Regions from separate parts of the Homo sapiens genome. Here all the other regions are linked to region 1. The links are contacts of gene promoters, found by promoter capture Hi-C in blood cells and fetal thymus (Javierre and others, 2016). All regions are on one chromosome and are shown on one strand. The core of a region is centred on a gene start or on the middle of the fragment in contact, and the rest is flanking DNA. Distances in the headings are between cores, read along the strand shown. Region 1 holds the start of HOMER3 (homer scaffold protein 3). Region 2 overlaps ELL (elongation factor for RNA polymerase II). Region 3 overlaps ELL (elongation factor for RNA polymerase II). Region 4 overlaps CRLF1 (cytokine receptor like factor 1). Region 5 holds the start of ELL (elongation factor for RNA polymerase II). Region 6 overlaps ELL (elongation factor for RNA polymerase II). Region 7 overlaps UBA52 (ubiquitin A-52 residue ribosomal protein fusion product 1).

Region 1 (2,700 bases), core at 184-2,683:
AGTTCCCCACTACACCCTGCAGAGGGACCCCACCCCCAGCAGCTCCCACCCTAGGGCAGAAGCACACCTTGAAGTCCAGAGTCCAAATCCCCAGGGAGCCCCCAGCCAAGTTAAAAAGACAAGATGTAGACAAACAGCCAATCCCAATGCCCACCATGAGGGCAGAGCAGAATCCACACTGGGAGACCAGGGCTCCCCAACCTCCCCATTGGGCCATTCAGCAACCCCGAATCTGCAGGGGACCAAGGAGGAGTTTGGAGGAGGGGGAAGACAGGTGGGGGAGGGGAGGCCCTGGCCCAGCGGCCTCTGTGGTCAAAGGGGGGATGCCCCCCCTATCCTGTCCTGGGCAGCTGCTGTCCTGGTCACAGGGTCTGAAACCGGAGCCCCTGAGTGGGGGTGGGGCGGCAGCTCTGGCCTGGACTGGGGGCGGGTCCTGCGCCGGGTGGGAGTTGGGGAACACAGGGGTCCCCGGAACCCAGGCCCTTCCGGTCCGGCAGCTCCTGCTGCGACTTGCAGCGTTTGGGGAAAGTTACTCACCAACTAGTCATGCGCCTCGGATGCCGCCGGCCACGGGGCTCCCGGAGGGGGGTCCGACACCGCCCGGTGCCCGGGATCCCCAATCTGGCCGGTGGATGAGGCCCCATCCCATGCACCCGAGTGCGGGGGACGGGGGGGTTAATATTAATTCAGGATCCCATCCCCACCCGAGGCAGGACACCCAGTGCACGCCCCAACTCCGGGACGCGGGCTCTGACCCTGGAACTTCCGAGATTCCCGCGACGCCCCCTGTCTCTGGGTCCAGAACTTCGGGGGACACCTCTTCTGCCTCCTCCAACCCCAGGTCGGTAACTCCGGGGACTCCCTTCGTGACTCCTCCTCTAACTGGGTCCGGGACCCCGGTCCTCCGCGTTGTCCTAGACTCCTAAACTTCGAGGACCCCCTGCCACCCCTCCAGTCCCTGGGTCCGGGACGTCCGGACCCCTCCCACCCCAGTACCCCACCCCAGGTCCGCAGCTTTGGGGACCTCTTCGCAGCCTCCTCCAACGCCGGGTCCAGAACTTTGGGAACCTCCCACGCAGTCCCCTCTCAGACCCTGAATCCAGAACTTCGGGACCCCCGCGCTCCCTCCAGCCCTGGAACTTGGGGACCCCTCGCGCCGCTCCCAGTCCCGGGTCCGAAACTTCTGGGGAACCCCCACGCCCTCCCCTTGGCCCTGGGACTTCGAGGCCCCCGCGCTCCCAGCGCAGGCTCGGCAGGCCGGGCTCACCCTGCCAGGTCGGCGCCCCGCGAGTGTCCAGGCGCGAGTCGGGTGCGGCCCCCGCGGCGCTGACTCCGCGCTGCCGGGCGCCCCGCTCGCTCCCTGGCTCCCGGGCCCGCGCCCTCCGCGCCGCCCTCCACGCCGCCCGTGCCTTTGTCTGCGCCGCCGCCGCCCGCGCCGCCTCCGGTCCCATCGCGGCCGGTCCCGACGCGGCCGCCGCCCGCCCCGCCTCCCCGGGCCGCCAAGGCCGCCCCGCTGCGCCCCCTGCCGGCTTTTTGCACTGGGAGAGGGTATGGGGGAGGGGATAAGGGGGAGGGGCGGGGGCCGGGACTGGGGAAGGGACGGAGGATTGAGGGAGGGGGTTAGGGGCGGTGGAGGGGGAGTGGGGGGGGGGGTTGCGTGGGGTCGGGTTGGGAGCAGAGGGTGGGGACAGAGAGACAGACGGAGAGGGACATCTGGGATGAGAAAGAGACCCAGAAACAGAGACACGGGGGAGACAGGCGGAGAGATAGGAAGCAGATGGAGAGAGTTGCACGGACAGCGATGTGACCTCACCCTCCTGTCACCTTCTCAGGAGACAGCTGCCTCTGTCCCCACTACCTGAGGTCATAACTTTGGGCCTGTGAGGGAGGTCAGGTCCCTCCCGGGCTGACATGGGTGGCCCAGTGAGGTTGGGGAGGGGGCAGTGGGTCTCAGGGTCTGCATACAGTAAGTGCTCAATGGGTGTTGCCAGGAAACGGAAGAGATCAACTTCGGGAGGGAACGGGAAGCAAGACAAAGAGAGAGAAGCCTCTGTTCCCCTGCCCGTCCCATCCCTAAGCAGGGACGTCTGTCCACCTCTGTCCCTCCCAAGACGATGGTAAAAATGCCCACAATGGTTGGATTAAGGTTATCTTTGCTGTTGTTTGAGGGTTCCAAAATCCAAAGGCTGAGGAAATGTCTCCAACGCATGGTTGCATCCCCTCAGCCTCCACTGGCCTGCGTTTGTCACCTCTGGTCACAGGGAGCACCCCCTTCCCACACTTGCCAGGAGAGCATCCTTCCGGAGTTGAACTAGGATCCACCTCCCCAGCCCCAAGCCCATGTGTCCCACTTGTCAATCCTGGTGCCGCCCCCTCTCTGGCACCGTCTCCAAAATCACACGGTGCGGCGCCGTTGGTTCGTTTGTGGACAGAGGTCCTGCAGCTCCCTGGAACCAAGGCCTGTGGCGCCCTAAAGCTCTGATCTTACATTTGAGTTTTTCTTTTCTTTTCTTTTCTTTTTTTTGAGACAAAGTCTCACTCTGTTGCCCAGGCTGGAGTGCAGTGGCACAATCTCGGCTTACTGCAGCCTCTGCCTCCCAGATTCAAGCAATTCTCCTGCCTCAGCCTCCCGAGTAGTTGGGACTACAGGTGCATGCCACCACACCTGGCTGATTTTTGTATTTTTAGTAGAGATGGGGT
Region 2 (2,700 bases), core at 106-2,605, 480 kb before region 1:
GGTTGTGGAGGGAAGCATGAAGGGAAGTTGGGGACAGCTGAGGAGGGTCTCAGCAGACTGAGGCCTTTTGTCTGAAGATTCCAAGGTCGGGGCCAGTGACTCACACCTCCGTCCCACTCTGTGAGCGTGGCCTTCCCCCACCACGGGACACCCTGGGGCACCACGTGGGCAGTAGGGAGGATGGCCAGAGAGGCCTACTTGGACCCTTCCATCCTGCTCCCAAGCCCTGTGGCCTTCAGGACCACACAAGACCACCCCAGCATCCTCTGGGTAAGCTCTGGCTGCCTTCATGCGGGTGGGGACATGCTGGGGGATGGGAGGCGGCATTACCGGACGAGCACCCGCTTCAGCAGCTGCTGGTCCCCCTCCGAGTAGCCAGGCCAGTCCTTCTGCACATCCTTGTACATGCAGTCCTGCAGTGTACACGTGCCGTCCTTAGCACTCATGTTGGCCACCTGCAAGACAGAGCCAGCCATCACTTTGTGGGAATCCTGAGAGAGACGGGGGACTAGAGAAAAAAGATCTGATAGTGGGTTTGGGAGGGTGTGCAGAGACAGTGGGAGACAGACAGAGACAGAGGAGAGGAAAGAGGATGGCCCACTACCGATCCGTGATGTCTCCCACCCCCAGTTCCCCCGCACACAATCCTCAGGGTGCAGAAGGGATAATGAGGGTCATGAAGGCAGGTCCAGACTCAACTGTCTTAGAGGTGCTGGGGCCAGGCTGGCTCCAAAAAGGGGAGGGCTACCACCTGCAGTACTGAGACCCCATCACCTGCCCCCTGGCCCCTCTAGCCTGCTTTTTTTCCTTTTTTGATACAAGATCTTAGCTCACTATAGCCTAGACCTCCTGTGCTCAAGCGACCCTCCCACGTCAGCCTCCCAGGTAGGTGGGGCCACAGGTGTGCACCACTATACTCCAGCTAATTTTTTTTAAGAGATGGGATCTCGCTATGTTGTCCAGGCTTGTCTTGAACCCCTGGGCTCAAGCGATCCTCTGATCTCAGCCTCCCAATGTGCTGGGATTCCAGCCACCACACCTGGCTCCTATTTCTTCCAGGCTGGAGTGCAGTGGTGTGATCAAGGTTCACTGTAGCTGCAAACTCCTGGGCTCAAGCGATCCTCTTGCCTCAGTCTCCCAAGTAGGTGGGCTATAAGCATGCACTATCATACCCAGCTAATTTTTTGTATAGATAGGATCTCAGTATTTTGCATAGGCTGGTCTCGAGCTCCTGGCCTCAAGGATCCTCCCACCTCAGCCTCCCAAAGTGCTGGAAACAGGCGTGAGCCACCGCGCTGGGCTCCACCCCATTTCTGATCACAACTCCCAGGGAAGAGTCAGCCACGGCTGGGGATGCTGGGTGAGGGGTACCTCTGGGGCCACGTCTGAGCCCACCTTCCCTACAACCAGCCTGCCTTGCTGTTGCCGGTTGACCAAAGCTAAGTTCGTCTCCCAGACTGCTAACAAAGATGGATTCAGAACGTCTGCCTTAGAGGGATCTGAGGAAGCTCCAGGTCACTGCCCTGAGTGGGTGCTGCGTGCTGGCCTACAGGGCACTCTGGTCTCCATCTTGCTGCAGGCATAGCAGTCACTGTTTTCTGCTGCATCTGACATGGCTCTGCGTCACAGCGTATCCCATGGGGAGCATTTTTTTTTTTTTTTTGAGATGGAGTCTCGCTCAGTTGCCCAGGCTAGAGTGCAATGGCGCTATCTTGGCTCACTGCAAGCTCCGCCTCCCGGGTTCACGCCATTCTCCAGCCTCAGCCTCTGGAGTAGCTGGGACTACAGGCACCCGCCACCACGCCCGGCTAATTTTTTTGTGTGTGTATTTTTAGTAGAGATGGGGTTTCACCATGTTAGCCAGGATGGTCTCGATCTCCTGACCTCGTAATCCACTTGCCTCGGCCTCCCAAAGTGCTGGGATTACAGGCGTGAGCCACCGCGCCCGGCCCATGGGGAGCATTTTTAACAGTTGAGTAATATCCCACCCCCAAACTGCTGCCAGTTTCTCTGTAGCATAAACAGACATTACTGTGTGCAGTTTTTTTCAGGTTGGCAACAGTTTCCTTCGACGGGATTCCCAGAAGCCAGATTAGTAGGTCAAAGGCTGAATATTTTTATGGCTCATGACAGGCTTTGCTAAATATTACTCAGCCGTCAACACCCCTCCCCTTGAAGGATAGGCTTGCGGGTTTCCCTGGGGCTCAGCCAGTCCTAGAGGTGGACACCTTCCATCTCTGCTCTAGATTTTTCCACAGAGGGAGGGCCAAGCACCTTTGAGGCATGCAGTTTTGTCACTGCCATTCCTCAGCATGTCTGAGGGCCTGTGAGGGGCTGGAAATGACCAGTCTGGGTGAGGCACATCCCCCTCCTCTTCTACAAGCCAACAGTGTCCTGCTGACCCCCACAGCTGCTTGGGGGGAAGCAGCTGCATAATGAATATAGAAGCAAGAAGCAGACGAGCTGTCCAGGGGAAGTCACAGTGGCACAGGAAGGGACAATCTGCCTGCAGATGCTGGCCAGGCCTGCTCCCAGGAGGCACTGAACCAAAGTCACCTGGAGAAGCCAGGCACCAGCACAGACACCTCCTGGCCAGGCCAATGCAGGTCCCACATCTGATGACTCCATCGAGCTCCCTTCAGCAACTCCTGCTGGCACCATGCCAGCCCTAGCCTTGGGAGCAGGATGGGGGTGGACGAG
Region 3 (2,700 bases), core at 41-2,540, 450 kb before region 1:
CTAATTTTTGTACTTTTAGTAGAGACAGGGTTTTGCCGTGTTGGCCAGGCTGGTCTCGATAATCTGACCTCAAGTGATCCGCCCACCTTGGCCTCCCAAAGTGCTGGGATTGCAGGCATATGAGCCACCGCACCAGGCCAGAAGTTAATTTCTGATTCCCACTCTCTGCCCTCCCCTCCCCCTCCCCACCTGTGCTGATGACAGACCCCACTGTCCAGCCTTCTGGGCTCTGACCAGGTGGGGCATCTTCCTGTCTCTGCCTTCAGAGCTTGGGAGGCCCCACCCGTACCTGAGCTGGAGCCTCACCTTCCTCCACTTCCCTAGCCGGGTGGCATCTGGACAACTCTACCCTGTACCTCTAGGCAGATGTGATCTCAGAACCACCATGTGCCCAGGATTTGAGAGTTGAAAAAGACAGCAAGGCAGAAGTCCAGGGCATATGGCTGGCGCTAACTCAATCAAGGTGTGGGCTATAACATGTTAGGCCCTGGGAACTCATCAGCCAAGGAGACAGATGTGGCCCTGCCCATTCAGAGCCCCTGGGCACAAATGTTGGAGTAGACAAAAACTAGAGTGACACAGGGACCCCTGGCAGGGCTGTTCTAACTGCCAAGGGTTAGGGACCACTGAGCCGAGAGCCGAGAGCAGAAGTGCAGGAGGCGAGCTGACCCCAGGAGACTGCAGGCCTTGTGGGGTGGTCTGTGGAGGAGTGGGGAGGGTCAGTGTCTGGCATGACAAGGCTCGGGAGCATCTGGGGGAGGGCCTGGCCCCACGTGCACATCACCAGCACCCTGGGCTGCTGGGGTGTGGAGAGGAACTGGCAACAGCAGCAAAAAGCCCAAGCAGGAGTTGGTGGGCCCCACCATTCCCACCCACTCACTCGCATCCCCATCAGGGAGGGCACAACACCCACCCAGCTGCCCTGAGTAGCACAGCTTGCAACTTCCTTGCTTCAGGCGTCAGGAGGACCCTAAAGGCTTCTTGGAAGCAGCGCCCCGCATGAGGGTGCCCAGCTCCCACTGCAGCTGAAGGAGGAGGGCCGAGAGCCTGCGGAGACAGGGCTGGTAGGCAGAGTGACAGGCGGCAGTGGCTGCCCCACTGAGGAGAAGAGGAGGAGCCACAAGCCCTGGCTGAGTGAGCAGAAGCCAGTCCCCCTGCCCCCTGTACGAGTGGCCACTCTGGGGCAGTATGCACTGCAGTGGAGGGATGGGGAGGCAGGCAGGTCCCACGCGCCTCAGCTTCCCAATACTGACCAAGACCTGGGCTGTAGGGGAGACTTGGACATGGACAGCGCCAGCCAGGGCAGGCCCACTGAGGCCTCTTCTGATCTTACCTTGGACTATGAGGCTTAGGGTGGAGGGCTGAGGAGCAGGCTCCCGCCACATGGGCCTGAAAGGGGCTAGCCTCCGTGAGCCCCTACCCTACCTGCTCCACACAGTGGGCGTTTGGAGGTGATGTGGGAGGTTTATATGGGGACTGCAGAGGGCGTGGAGATGCAGGCACAGTGCCACCGACACTCCACTCGGTCCCCACAACCTCCCGGACAGATGGGGTTACTCCCTCCTTATGGATGGGGAAACTGAGGCTCAGGTGAGGCCATGGCTGCGCCCCACAAAAGCACCTTTCAGTACTACTGGGCCAAACATTAGAACTTGATACCAGAGCTGTGACGGCCATGCCTGAGTGTGTGGGCGTGGTTGTGAAAAGAGCCACCCGTGAGCCCCAAGAGGTGGCCGGGCCACTGCCTCATCCAGAAAACTCCCCTGCATGCAGGAAGAGCTCAAGGGCTGCTGTGCAGAGACACTGGGTGAGGAAAGAGCTCAAAATCTCCCTGAGGGATGACTCAGGAGACAGAGACCTGACCAGACTCAGCCTCACACTGCACCCAGAGTGCTTCCTCTACTTCCTGTGGTAACAGAGCCTGTCTTCCTGGGCTCGAGAATAAATAAAACCAGGTCAAGTGCAGGTAACAACTTTTTTTTTTTTTTACCTTATTAGAAACATATAGTTTGGCAGGAGCTACAGAGATCATGGGTTGGAGGCGTGGAGTAGGGTTGGGGTTTGGCACAAGTCCAGGCACAGGCCCTTCCCCAGTGTCCCCTGCCAGCAGGTGGGGCCAGCTCCAGGCTGCTGCTGTCCACTCAGGTGGTGCGGACTGGGGGAGGTCCTTGCCAAGGCCAGGCGGGTAGCACAGGAACCTGTGGCTGTGGCCCGTCATACCAAGTCTTCCACTATGGGCAAACATCACTTCAATAATATAAAAAATCCAGAAGGAAAAGTCTAGTCTGAAATGACAATGAGATACCACCACATGCTTATTAGAATGCCCAAAACTCAGAACAGACAGCACCAAGTGCTGGTGAGGACATGGGGCAACAGGAACCTCATTCACTGCCGGTGGACATGCAAAATGGTGCGGCCTCAACAGATTCCTGAAAAACTAAACTAACATACTCTCACCATCCAATGCAATAATTGCACGCCTTGGTATTTGCCCAGAGGCACTGGAAACGTGCGTCCACATGAAAAATACTAATTACAGCAGCTTTATTTGTCATTGCCTAAACTCAGAAGCAAACAAGATGTCCTTCAGTAGATGAATGGATAAATAAACCATGTCACATCCAGACAACAGGATATAACAAGAAATGAGCTAGGAAACCATGCAAAGACATGAAGGGGCCTTAAAAGCATACGACT
Region 4 (2,700 bases), core at 1-2,500, 340 kb before region 1:
GCCAGCAGGGAGGAGCCGATGAGAAGCGTGGGATCCTGGGGACTGATCACAGCTGTGTCTGGGGTCAAAGAGGAACACGTGTCAGGCCAGGGCGGGGACCCTCCAAGCCCCCAACCATGCCAGGACCTCCAGGGTTCATGGTGGTCCTGAAAAGACGCTGTTAATGATTGTCCCCCATTTTACAGATAGGGAAGGTAGAGATCAGTTGGGTTAAATGCCCAGGGCAACACTGGTGGCCAAACTGACAGACCTGGAGTTGTCCAGGTCTGTCTGACTCCAACACTGGATCCTTCCAAAACTCTTCATCACTGACATGCTTAAGGTTCTCTGAGGGGTCACACAACTCGGGCATAGAGGCTCATTCGGATCCAAGTGACTCTTGCTTAGCACATCGTTATGACAAACACTATGCTTTGCTTTTTTTTTTTGAGACGGAGTCTCGCTCTGTCGCCCAGGCTGGAGTGCAGTGGCACGATCTCGGCTCACTGCAACCTCCGCCTCCCGGGTCCAAGCAATTCTTCTGCCTCAGCCTCCCGAGTAGCTGGGACTTCAGGTGTGCACCACCATGCCTGACTAACTTTTGTATTTTTTTTTTTTTGAGACGCAGTCTTGCTCTGTCGCCCAGGCTGGAGTGCAGTGGCACGATCTCGGCTCACTGCAAGCTCCGCCTCCCGGGATCATGCCATTCTCCTGCCTCAGCCTCCCAAGTAGCTAGGACTACGCGCCCGCCACCACGCCTGGCTAATTTTTTGTATTTTTAGTAGAGACGGGGTTTCAGCATGTTAGCCAGGATGGTCTCGATCTCCTGACCTCATGATCCATCCGTATGGGCCTCCCAAAGTGCTGGGATTACAGGCGTGAGCCACTGCGCCTGGCCAAGTTTTGTATTTTTAGTAGAGACGGGGTTTCACCATATTGGCCAGGCTGGTCTTGAACTCCTGACCTCGTGATCCACCTCCCTCGGCCTCTCAAAGTGCTGGGATTACAGGAGTGAGCCAATACACCCAGGCATGCTTTGCTTTTTATTTTTTTAGCGACAGGGTCTCACTCTGTTGGCCAGGCTGGAGTGCAGTGGCACGATCATAGCTCACTGCAGCCTCGATCTCCTGGGTTCAAGTGATCCTCCCTCATCTCAGCTCCCAAGTAGCTGGGACTACAGGTGTGCACCACCACACCTGGCTGATTTTTAAATATTTTTTTAGAGATGAGGTCTCGCTAGTTTGCTCAGGCCGGTCTTGAACTCCTGGCCTCAAGCGATCCTCCCACCTTGGCCTCCCAAAGTCCTGGGATCACAGGCATGAGCTTCGGTGCCTAGCCTTCTTTATTTTTCATTCTCATTTTGTTTTTCTTTTTTGGCAACTAGAAACAAAAGATTGTGGGTTCTTCCTGTGATGCTCCCAGAGCCTCACACATAGTAGGTGTTTCTGTGGGGGAAGGGCACTGCTTAAAATGAAAGCCCTGACCCTTACTTGAATCATTAAGAGCACCATGTTTTTTTTTTTTTTGAGACGGAGTTTTGCTCTTGTTGCCCAGGCTGGAGTGCAATGGCACGATCTCGGCTCACCGCAATCTCCGCCTCCCAGGTTCAAGTGATTCTCCTGCGTCAGCCTCCCGAGTAGCTGGGATTACAGGCACACATCACCGTGCCCGGCTAATTTTTGTATTTTTAGTAGAGATGTGGTTTCACCGTGCTGGTCAGGCTGGTTTCGAACTCCTGACCTTGTGATCCGCCTGCCTCAGCCTCCCAAAGTGCTGGGATTACAGGGGTGAACCACCGCGCCCAGCCTGTATTTTTAGTAGAGTCCAAGAATCGCCATGTTGGCCAGGCTGGTCTCGAACTCCTGACATCAAGTGATCCACTCGCCTCAGCCTCCCGAAGTGCTGGGATGACAGGCGTGAGTCATTGCGCCTGGCCTAACAGCACCATTTATTGAGCACTTGTTGTGTTCTGAATACTGGGCTAAGACTACCTACATTTTCTCGGCCAATCCTGCTTATATGTTAAAGATGAAAAAACTCCGGCTCTGAAAGATGGAGTTTCCTTGCTGGAATGAGGGAAGGCCATACTAGTTAGGCCCAGATTTTCTGGTCTCCAAAGTTCTGTTCCACACTGCCTACCTCTGGAACTAAAGGCAGCCCTGGCAAACTGCACGTCCCCAACTCCCATCCAAAGGGACTTGACATCATCGCTGTTTCCCTCCACTCAGTTTTCCTCATCTGCAAAGTGAGAACGAGAAAGCTCTTTGTCTCCTGGGGTATTGTGAAAGTCAGAGGGGAAAGGACTTCCTGAACCAGGTTGTGTGTGAGTCAGGTACTAGGCACAGGAAACTTGGGGACGCCCATGGGTGGTTGATGCCTCTCTCTCCTGCTGGCCATCAGGGCAGCCCAGGAGTTCCCCTTCTGGAGACCAGAACCTTGTCCATAGGGAAACCAAGGCCCAGAGGAGGAGGGGGTGCACAGGCCAACCTCCCAATGCCTCTCTGAGTCTCAGTTTCCCCATCTGGAAAGTGGACATCATGGCGTCAATGTCATGGGGTTGGCTGGGTGCGGTGGCTCATGCCTGTAATCCCAGCACTTTGAGAGGCTGAGGTGGGAGGATCACGTGAGGTCAAGAGTTTGAGACAGCCTGGGCAACATGGTGAAACCCTGTCTCTACCAAAAATACAAAAATTAGCCAGGTGGGGAGGGGGTGGTGGCCCC
Region 5 (2,700 bases), core at 153-2,652, 420 kb before region 1:
CCACATTCCTTCCTAGTTAGTCTCCCTCCTCCCCCGCCCGCGGCACCCCCCCACCCCCACCATCAACAGTATACACAAACACACACACACGCAGGGAGCAGGGCTCTCTGAGCCCGAGACTAGACCCACCCCCACTCCCTTTAGGGCAATGAAGCCCCCAATTTCCAGAAAAGGAGTTACAAGGTTCCTAAACCACTTCCCCTCGGGACCTGACCACTGGTCATCTGCAACTTCTGACCCAGCACAGACGGGGGGAGGGGGGGCCATGACACAAACAGAAATGAAAAAGGCAGGTTTCTGACCACGGCCCCAGATGCGCCCCAAAGTCAGGCCCAAGAGAACATACACAGCAGCCTCCCCTCCCCACCACCAGCCAGGTGGCAGAACCGAAACGCCTCAAACTTCCCCCAGATGGGCCCAAATCGGCCTCTGAGAAGTTCCAGAGTCAGCGGCCAGATGTGGTAGCCAGAGCTTCCTCCTGGGTGGCAGGGATCCCCTACATGTGCCCTGAGGATAACATCACAGCCGCCCCCAACACTTCCACTCTCCAAGGAACCTCTCTCCGGAGAGAGAGGGTCACCTGGGGGTAAGGGGAGCAGAAAGCTGGGACAAGCTGTCAGTTTCTGCCCAAACTCCCCGTCCCAAGAACCAAAGTGGCCCAACCTGAGTGGCTTCATCGGAACGCGTCAAAGCCAGCCCCCAGCTGCAAAGCCTTCCACCCAGACAGAACAGACCCCCACAAGTGCCTCGCTGACCACCCCCTGCCGGGCACCCAGACGATCGCTGCTTCCCAGGAGGACAGACACAGTCACCCCCACCAACGGCGCTGCCCCGGCCCCAGATGGAAAAGCCCCCAGCTTCCCCCTATCACGGTGCCGGGACCGTGCGGCCCACCGCCTCCTCGCCCCGCCGCCAGGTGCGCAAACTGGACCCTGCCCAGGTGCCCAGCAGGCCAGAAAGGCCCCGGACGCCGCCAGGTGCCGACACCGACGCCCCCCGGGCCCGGCGCGCGAGTCTGGGCCCCTCAGCAGCCCCGGGCCACCCGCCTGTATTGCCTCCTAGTGCTGAGAAGGAACGCGGTTCTCAGCGCTCCAGGCCGGACTGGCGCCCACTCCGCGCCCCGCCGGCCCAGGGACCCGCGAGCAGCACCACAGACCTAGCGTCTCCGAGCCCGGACGCCTCAGTGAGGGGAGCGCGAGGCCGGCCCGCGTCCGGACGTTCCCCACTGGCGCGCCGGGCGCCATGCCACTCACCTGTCTGGCGCGGTAGCTCTCGAAGGCCCTCAGGGCACTGTCGGTGAGCTTCACGTGGAACACCGACACCTTGCTGCCGTCGCTAACCCGCCCGCACGACAGCCCGTAGCTCCTATCCTCCTTCAGCGCCGCCATCTTGCGACCATCTCTCCCCCGCGCCCCCTTCCCGGCTCCAGCGCCGCCACGCCGGCCACGCCCCGCCCCGCCGCCCGCTGACGCGCTGCATTATTCATGAGACGCGGCTGGCCACGCCCCCCGAGTCCGACCAAACCAACAGTCGCCGCCACACCGGCAGGCAGCGCACTACATTATTCAGGAGACGCGCCTGGCCACGCCCCATGAGGGCCCCACAAGGCCCACAGTCAACGCCCCAAGTTGTTGCATATTCATAAGGCACTTATGGCCCCGCCTCTTCAGGCCCTAGGGGTGGCCACTTCCGTGAACGAACTCCGCCTCAACACGCGCACCCCTCCAGGCCCCGCCTCCATAGTATTATACATAACCCTGACTCAGCCAGCCAGGCGCGTCAAAGCCCCGCCCCTACAGCCGCTGACGTGATGCATTATTTATGAGATCTCTACAGTCTTCCGTCTTTGGCTTCTGTGGAAAGCCGCAGAGAGGGCGTGGAGGGGCGGAGCCGGCTCGAAACACGTGGGTGGGTAGGCCCCGCCGCGGGCCGGGAGGGTGGGCGTGGCTATGTAAACGGAGCGCGCGCGTTGGACGCTGGGTTGGACACATAAGGCATCCCTTAGGCGGGGTGGATGGGACTTCCACCCAGGGAAGGTGCTGGACCGGTAGGTGGAAGAGGAGCTGGTAAACTTTTTCTTATGAGATGAGTACTTTTAATAGGATAAAATCCTACATCCCCACAGTCCCTGAGCGATGGTGCAGTCCAGCTTCATTTTCCTATTTTAATTTTTTTTTGAGGGGTCTTGCTGTGTTGCCCAGGCTGGAGTGCAATGGCGCCATCATGGCTCACTGCACCCTCGACCTCCTGAACTCAAACTGATCCTCCTTGTCTGGGTCTGCTGAAATGCTAGGATTACAGGAGTGAGCCACCAAGCCCAGACTTCCATTTTCTTTTCTTTTCTTTTTTTTTTTTTTTGAGACGGAGTCTTGCTCATCAGCCCAGACTGGAGAACAGTGGCGCTATCTCGGCTCAATGCAACCATCGTCTCCTGAATTCAAGCGATTCTCCTGTCTCAGCCTCTCGAGTAGCTGGGATTACAGGCGCCCGCCATCATGCCCAGCTAATTTTTGTATTTTAGTAGAGATGGGGTTTCACCATGTTGACCAGGCTGGTCTTGAACTCCTGACCTCAGGTGATCCGCGCGCCTCGCCCTCCCAAAGTGCTAGGATTACAGGCGTGAGCCACCTCCCCCAGTTTTTGTTTGTTTGTTTGTTTTTAGACAGAGTTTCGATTTCCTTGCCCAGGCTGGAGTGCAGT
Region 6 (2,700 bases), core at 54-2,553, 460 kb before region 1:
TTAAATAACGGGGTAACTCAGTAGCACATGACACCTGCAGGGTACTGCCCATCTCACACCCAAGAACACCCAGCAGGGGAGAGCCATGCCTCAGGCCACCGCCTGCCCAGTCTCTGTAGACCCTCTGAGGGGTCATCACCCCCACAAGTCCTCTCAGGCCCTCGAGTGGCAAAAATCCAACTTTCATTACCCAGCATGAGGTATGGAACTGGGAGCTCCTGAGATACAAAGTCACCCCCGCTGCTGTACTTCAGGCCAGGGCCCCAGGTGGGAGCTGGGGAGCCTGGTAGGGCCGCCACAGCTGGCCTGACACAGTCAGCAGGTCAGCTGGGTCTTCAAGGCCGGACAGGCAGGCACTGAGCTGTGCCGAGGCTGGTGCTCCCCAGACCCAACTGGACTTCAGACCCTGACTCGGAGAACAGACCTCAACACAGCAGGGCAGTGATGCCTGCGCCCTGCGGTCACTTGGCCTGGGCGCCCACTGGGGCTACTGAACACAGACTGGGAGACTCCTGTAGGCAGCTCCCCCTCAATGAGGACACTCCTGTAAAGACAGCAATGCCTTTGGGAAAAGGGTCGAGGGTGCAGAGCCTGGGAGGCAGTGAGAGTCCTCAATGCTGAGACAGAGGAAAGGGTGAGGAGGAACCTCTCCAGGGCCAGAATCCCCTGATCCTCTCCCCTCCGGCAAAGAGCACTTCCGGGGATGAAGCAACAGGAAGTGGCTTACGAAATCCACCTCCAGGCCGAGTGACCAGTTTACAGGAAGTGTGGTGGGTGAATCTTCCCCAGGGCACGAGGCAATGTCTGGAGCCATTTCTGGTCCTCACCACTGAGGGCGGGGACAGTCCCCACCATCTGGCTCGGGGGAGGCCAGGGATGCTGCTCAGCACACTGCAGGCAACACAGAACCTCCTGCCCCAAATGTCAAGCAGTGCAGGGGCTGAGAAGCCCTGGGCTGACCCTGCCACGGGAAGCGACCATCAGAGCAGAAAGCAGAAAAATCTATGGGAAAAAAGACCTGCTCCCTTCAACAAATATAAAATATAAATGGAAAAGTTACGGGTGAAGAAGAACGTATCTGATTGTTGGCCAGGCATGGTACCTCACACCTGTAATCCCAGCATTTTGGGAGGCTGAGGCAGGTGGACTGCTTGAGGTCAGGAGTTCAAGACCAGCCTGACCAACATGGTGAAACTCCATCTCTACTAAAAATACAAAAATTAGCCAGGCATGGTGGCATACGCCTATAATCCTAGCTACTCGGGAGCCTGAGGCAGGAGAACTGCTTGAACCCGGTAGGCGGAGGTTGCAGTGAGCTGAGATCAAGCCACTGCACTCCAGCCTGCACGACAGAGTGAGACTCCATCTCAAAAAAAAAAAAAAAAAAAAATCTAGGATTGTTTTAAAAACTCTCCAGCAAAGACAGAAACTAGGGAGAGGGCACAGTGAAGAGATGAGACACACAGACAGATGGACGGGGCCCAATCTGGCCAGGTCCCAGGATACCTGCTACCAGCCTGGGGACAATGAGGCCCAAGGCAGCAGGTGCCAAGGCTGCCCCAAAGACACATGATCCTTCCCACCACCCTCCAGAAGCACCCACTCAGCAGAAGTGCCCACTCTCCCCAGGCAGCACGTTCTCCCTGCTGTCTACTGGGCAAGGCCTGCCACCCCACCCCTGATGCAGGAAATGACAGAAAGGAATGCATCTGTTCCTTCTTCAGAAGTCCATCTTGCTGACTCTCCCAAGCACCAGTGTCAGCACACACGTCCTGATCTTACAGAGCTGGGTCACCCTGCCAAGCCACGGCGTGTGGTCCAGCAGAGGGAAGGTGAAGTCCCGGGAAGAGCCCTGGACGGTGGCCTCCCCACAACAGGCCCCCCCTTTCCAGTAAAGCACAAATGATTGGGAAACGCTATTCAGGAATCCTCCTTGAGACTTCCTGGCAGGACTGGAGCAGGACATTGAGGCCACGGAGAGTTTAGACAGTGACTGAGTGGGGCTGTCTCCGTGAACTACAAAACAAAGGAAGATCTGCCCAGTGAGCTTGGTTGGCTCAGGGACGAGCTAGGGAACTTGGACAGACACATTGTGGACCTCACTGGTTCCAGCCTAGGGAACCAGGTGGCCACGGTCAGGGCAGAGCAGAGGGCAGGACCCACGGCAGCTCCTCTGCCAGCCTGGGAGGACAGATGGTGTGTTCAGCAGGCCAGGTGGGCCTGTAAGAGCAGGAAAGGGACTCCAACTGGCTACAAGCCAAGTGTAATTCAGTGGCCGGCATAGCAAGTATTTTTTTTCTTTCTTTCTTTTTGGAGATAAGCTCTCACTCTGTCACCCAGGCTGGAGTGCGGTGGTGTGAACACGGCTCACTGCAGCTTCGACCTTCTAGGCTCAGGTGATCCTCCTGCCTCAGCTCCCGAGTAGCTGGGACCACAGGCACACACCAACACACCTGGCTAATTTTTCTATTTTCTGTAGAGATAGGGTTTTGCCATGTTGCCCAGGCTGGACTTGAACTCCTAGGTTCAAGCAACTCGACAGACTCAGCCTCCCAAAGTGCCAGGATTACAGGTGTGAGCCACCGCACCCAGCCCGCAGCAGATATTTCTATCTGCATTCACGAAGGTGCATAGAAAGCTTATGGAAAAGGGTTTTTCAGAAATCTTGTAGACAAAAATATGCAGATTGCCCAAAACTGT
Region 7 (2,700 bases), core at 45-2,544, 360 kb before region 1:
GTTGATTCTCAAATTTTTTTATTTTATACAAATGGGGTCTCACTATGTTGTCCAGGCTGGTCTTGAACTCCTGGGCTCAAGCCATCCGCCCATCTCAGCCCCTCAAAGTGTTGGGATTACAAGCAAGAACTGCCATGCCTGACCCAGTTCTCAGTTTTTTGTTTGTTTGTTTGTTTGTTTGTTTTGAGACGGAGTCTTGCTCTGTCGCCCAGGCTGGAGTGCAGTGGCGCAGTCTCGGCTTACTACAACCTCTGCCTCCGGGGTTCACATCCTTCTCCTGCCTCAGCCTCCCGAGTAGCTGGGACTACAGGTGCCCGCCACAACTCCTGGCTAATTTTTTGTATTTTTAGTAGAGACGGGGTTTCACTGGGTTAGCCAGGTTGGTCTCGATCTCCTGACCTTGTGATCCATTCGCCTTGGCCTCCCAGAATGCTGGTATTACAGGCGTGAGCCAGCACGCCTGGCCCAGTTACTCAGTTTTGAATCTGAGGCCGTGACATCACTCATGGTCTGCAGTCAGTGCTCTGCCCCTGAGCTGTACCCTCTCCTATGATAATCACTCTTAAGAAGGGCAACCCTTGGTGTTTTCCCCTTAAGGTCACCCAGGCTGGAATGCAGTGGTGTGGTCATGGCTCCCTGTACCCTGGAACTCAGGCTTGGGTGATCCTCTCTCCTTTGCCTCCGAAGTAGCCAGGACTACAGGTGTGCACCCACCACCACACTCAGATAATTGCTTTGGTGTTTTTAAAGCTTGTAATGATCAGTAGGCTGAGGTGGGCAAATCATAAGGTCAAGAGTTTTTTAGATGGGGTGAGCACAGACCAATTCCTGTTTTATTTACTGATTTAAAATTTTGAGACAGTCTCACTGTCACCCAGGTTGGGGTGCAGTGGTAGGATCATAGCTTGCTGCAGCCTTGATCTCCCAGGATCTTGCCTCAGCCTCCCGAGTAGCTGGGACTGCATGCTTGTGCCACCACACTCGGTTAATATTTTGTAGAGATGGGGTCTTGCTATGTTGCCCAGGCTGGCTTCAAACTCCTGAACTTAAAAGCCTCCTGTTTAGTTTTGGTTTTTTATCACTTTTTTTTTTTTTTTTTGAGATGGAGCCTTGCTCCCATCGTGCAGGCTGGAGTGCGGTGGCGCAGTCTCGGCTCACTGCAGCTTCTGCCTCTCGGGTTCAAGCGATTCTCCTTTCTCAGCCTCTTGAGTAGCTGGAATTACCAGTGTGCGCCACCACCACCACGCCTGGCTAGTTTTTCTGTTTTTAGTAGAGACAGGGTTTTGCTATGTTGGCCAGGCTGGTCTTGAACTACTGACCTCTTGTGATCTACCTGTCTTGGCCTTCCAAAGTGCTAGGATTACAAGCGTAAGCCACAGCGCCTGGCCTTGCTACATTTTTTTTTTTTTTTTTTTTTTTACAGACATGGTCTCGCTATGTTGCCCAGAATGGTTTTGCACTGGGTCCAAGCAGTTCTGCCGCAGCCTCCCAAAGTGCTGGGATTACAGGGGTGAGGCACCTTGCTGGCCCCTGTTTTGATTAGGGTGCAGTGCTGGTGAAGCCGGTGCACGAGGCCAGTGATGCATCCTAATGAGGGGTGGAGTTGGCGGGACTTCCTGGGCCAGTTTGGGGACTTTCACAAAAGACCCCCATGACTCAGGGTTTTGAGTTCTTAACTGATCGAATGAAGGATTCAAAATTAACCACTCCAAGGGGGGATTGAAGGAAGAACCACTCTTAATGGACAAAAAGAAAGAAAGGGGAGGGAGTAACAGGGATATGAGCTCTAGCCGCCCAAGCTAGCAATGGCAACCCTTCTGGGTCCCCTTCCAGCATGTGGAAGCTTTCCTTTCGCTTCATTCAATAAACAGCTGCTGCTCACTCTCCTGGTCCGTGGACTCTTTTTGAACTGTTAACACTCCCCGCAAAGGTCCGCAGCTTCATTCTTCAAAGTTAGCGAGACCAGGAACCCATCGGCAGGAGAAACTGACTCATCGTGGGGGCTCACCCAGGATTTCCAAAGCGGTAACATCGGACCTCTTTCGCTTGCTACTCTGCTCTACTTTTCTTTAGAATTGAGGGCAAACACCGGGCACCTGTCGGCCATTTAAAAGCGACAAGTGCCGCCGCCTGACTAAAGACACAGATGTAAGGGTATCTGAGAAAGGGCTCTCTAACAACCCCCAGCCCTTCTGAATCGAGAGTGTTGTTTTGCCTAGAAACCAGTTCCCACTTTCTCTGCATTTTCTGGGTTGAACCGAGGGCTGGCCAAGGGTGGAAAACAGTGGCCCCAAGCTCCTGGTAACGCCCAGTCGAGATGACAGCGCTTTGTGAAACCTTTGTTAAACAGCCACCCAAACGCACTTCACCCACCCTTCGAGAGGCATGCCTCCTAGGTCCAAACGTCTATAAGGAAGACTTTCTTGAGAACTTGTCTCCAGGATTCTCTCTACCCCCAGGATGAAAACCCTCTGGATTAGGAATCTAAAACAATTAGGATGGCAACCCTCAGATCTGTGTTCCTGATGTGCCATGGCTTATTTTTTTATTTTTTTTGAGATGGAGTCTCGCTCTGACGCCCAGGCTGGAGTGCAGCGGCACGATCTTGGCCCACTGCAACCTCAACCTCCCGGATTCAAGCAATTCTCTTGCCTCAGCCTCCTGAGTAGCTGGGATTACAGGCACCACGTGCCACCATGA

The links. The method cuts DNA at HindIII sites, captures the fragments that hold promoters and counts their contacts. A CHiCAGO score of 5 or more calls a contact.
Region 2: a fragment that was not itself captured here is called in contact with the fragment with the promoter of HOMER3 in region 1 in 5 of 17 cell types (naive B cells, total CD8 T cells, naive CD4 T cells and 2 more); the score reaches 6.8 in naive B cells.
Region 3: a contact is called between a fragment that was not itself captured here and the fragment with the promoter of HOMER3 in region 1, in 7 of 17 cell types (total B cells, fetal thymus, naive CD8 T cells and 4 more). The highest score is 7.7, in total B cells.
Region 4: a contact is called between a fragment that was not itself captured here and the fragment with the promoter of HOMER3 in region 1, in 6 of 17 cell types (non-activated CD4 T cells, naive CD8 T cells, total CD4 T cells and 3 more). The highest score is 7.5, in non-activated CD4 T cells.
Region 5: the fragment with the promoter of ELL here is called in contact with the fragment with the promoter of HOMER3 in region 1 in 8 of 17 cell types (erythroblasts, activated CD4 T cells, non-activated CD4 T cells and 5 more); the score reaches 8.2 in erythroblasts.
Region 6: a fragment that was not itself captured here is called in contact with the fragment with the promoter of HOMER3 in region 1 in 2 of 17 cell types (naive B cells and fetal thymus); the score reaches 5.9 in naive B cells.
Region 7: a fragment that was not itself captured here is called in contact with the fragment with the promoter of HOMER3 in region 1 in 2 of 17 cell types (monocytes and total CD4 T cells); the score reaches 6.9 in monocytes.

The regions. Positions count from the first base shown.
Region 1 is chr19:18,939,784-18,942,483 of GRCh38, forward strand. HOMER3 (homer scaffold protein 3) reads right to left here and starts at 1,434. Exons shown (of 10, transcript NM_004838.4): 1 at 1,268-1,434. HOMER3-AS1 (HOMER3 antisense RNA 1) reads left to right here and starts at 471. Exons shown (of 3, transcript NR_134913.1): 1 at 471-841. RefSeq lists a silencer at 1,398-1,597. The HindIII fragment of the contact is 10,102 bases long and covers 1-2,700 here.
Region 2 is chr19:18,457,875-18,460,574 of GRCh38, forward strand. It overlaps ELL (elongation factor for RNA polymerase II), which reads right to left. Exons shown (of 12, transcript NM_006532.4): 6 at 331-455. Among named protein-coding and RNA genes, the nearest start is that of ISYNA1, 21 kb to the left of the region's middle. The HindIII fragment of the contact is 4,339 bases long and covers 1-2,700 here.
Region 3 is chr19:18,494,554-18,497,253 of GRCh38, forward strand. All of the region lies in intron 1 of ELL (elongation factor for RNA polymerase II), which reads right to left. Among named protein-coding and RNA genes, the nearest start is that of ELL, 26 kb to the right of the region's middle. RefSeq lists enhancers at 468-1,367, 2,103-2,152. The HindIII fragment of the contact is 7,208 bases long and covers 1-2,700 here.
Region 4 is chr19:18,599,789-18,602,488 of GRCh38, forward strand. It overlaps CRLF1 (cytokine receptor like factor 1), which reads right to left. Exons shown (of 9, transcript NM_004750.5): 2 at 1-58. Among named protein-coding and RNA genes, the nearest start is that of CRLF1, 5.7 kb to the right of the region's middle. The HindIII fragment of the contact is 4,529 bases long and covers 1-2,700 here.
Region 5 is chr19:18,520,668-18,523,367 of GRCh38, forward strand. It overlaps ELL (elongation factor for RNA polymerase II), which reads right to left and starts at 1,403. Exons shown (of 12, transcript NM_006532.4): 1 at 1,254-1,403. The coding sequence starts at 1,388. RefSeq lists silencers at 87-136, 867-1,176 and enhancers at 392-907, 908-1,423, 1,567-1,896. The HindIII fragment of the contact is 8,691 bases long and covers 1-2,700 here.
Region 6 is chr19:18,478,340-18,481,039 of GRCh38, forward strand. All of the region lies in intron 1 of ELL (elongation factor for RNA polymerase II), which reads right to left. Among named protein-coding and RNA genes, the nearest start is that of ISYNA1, 42 kb to the left of the region's middle. RefSeq lists enhancers at 215-1,117, 531-600. The HindIII fragment of the contact is 2,666 bases long and covers 1-2,636 here.
Region 7 is chr19:18,575,580-18,578,279 of GRCh38, forward strand. It overlaps UBA52 (ubiquitin A-52 residue ribosomal protein fusion product 1), which reads left to right. Exons shown (of 5, transcript NM_001033930.3): 5 at 1-1,971. Among named protein-coding and RNA genes, the nearest start is that of UBA52, 5.1 kb to the left of the region's middle. The HindIII fragment of the contact is 1,093 bases long and covers 749-1,841 here.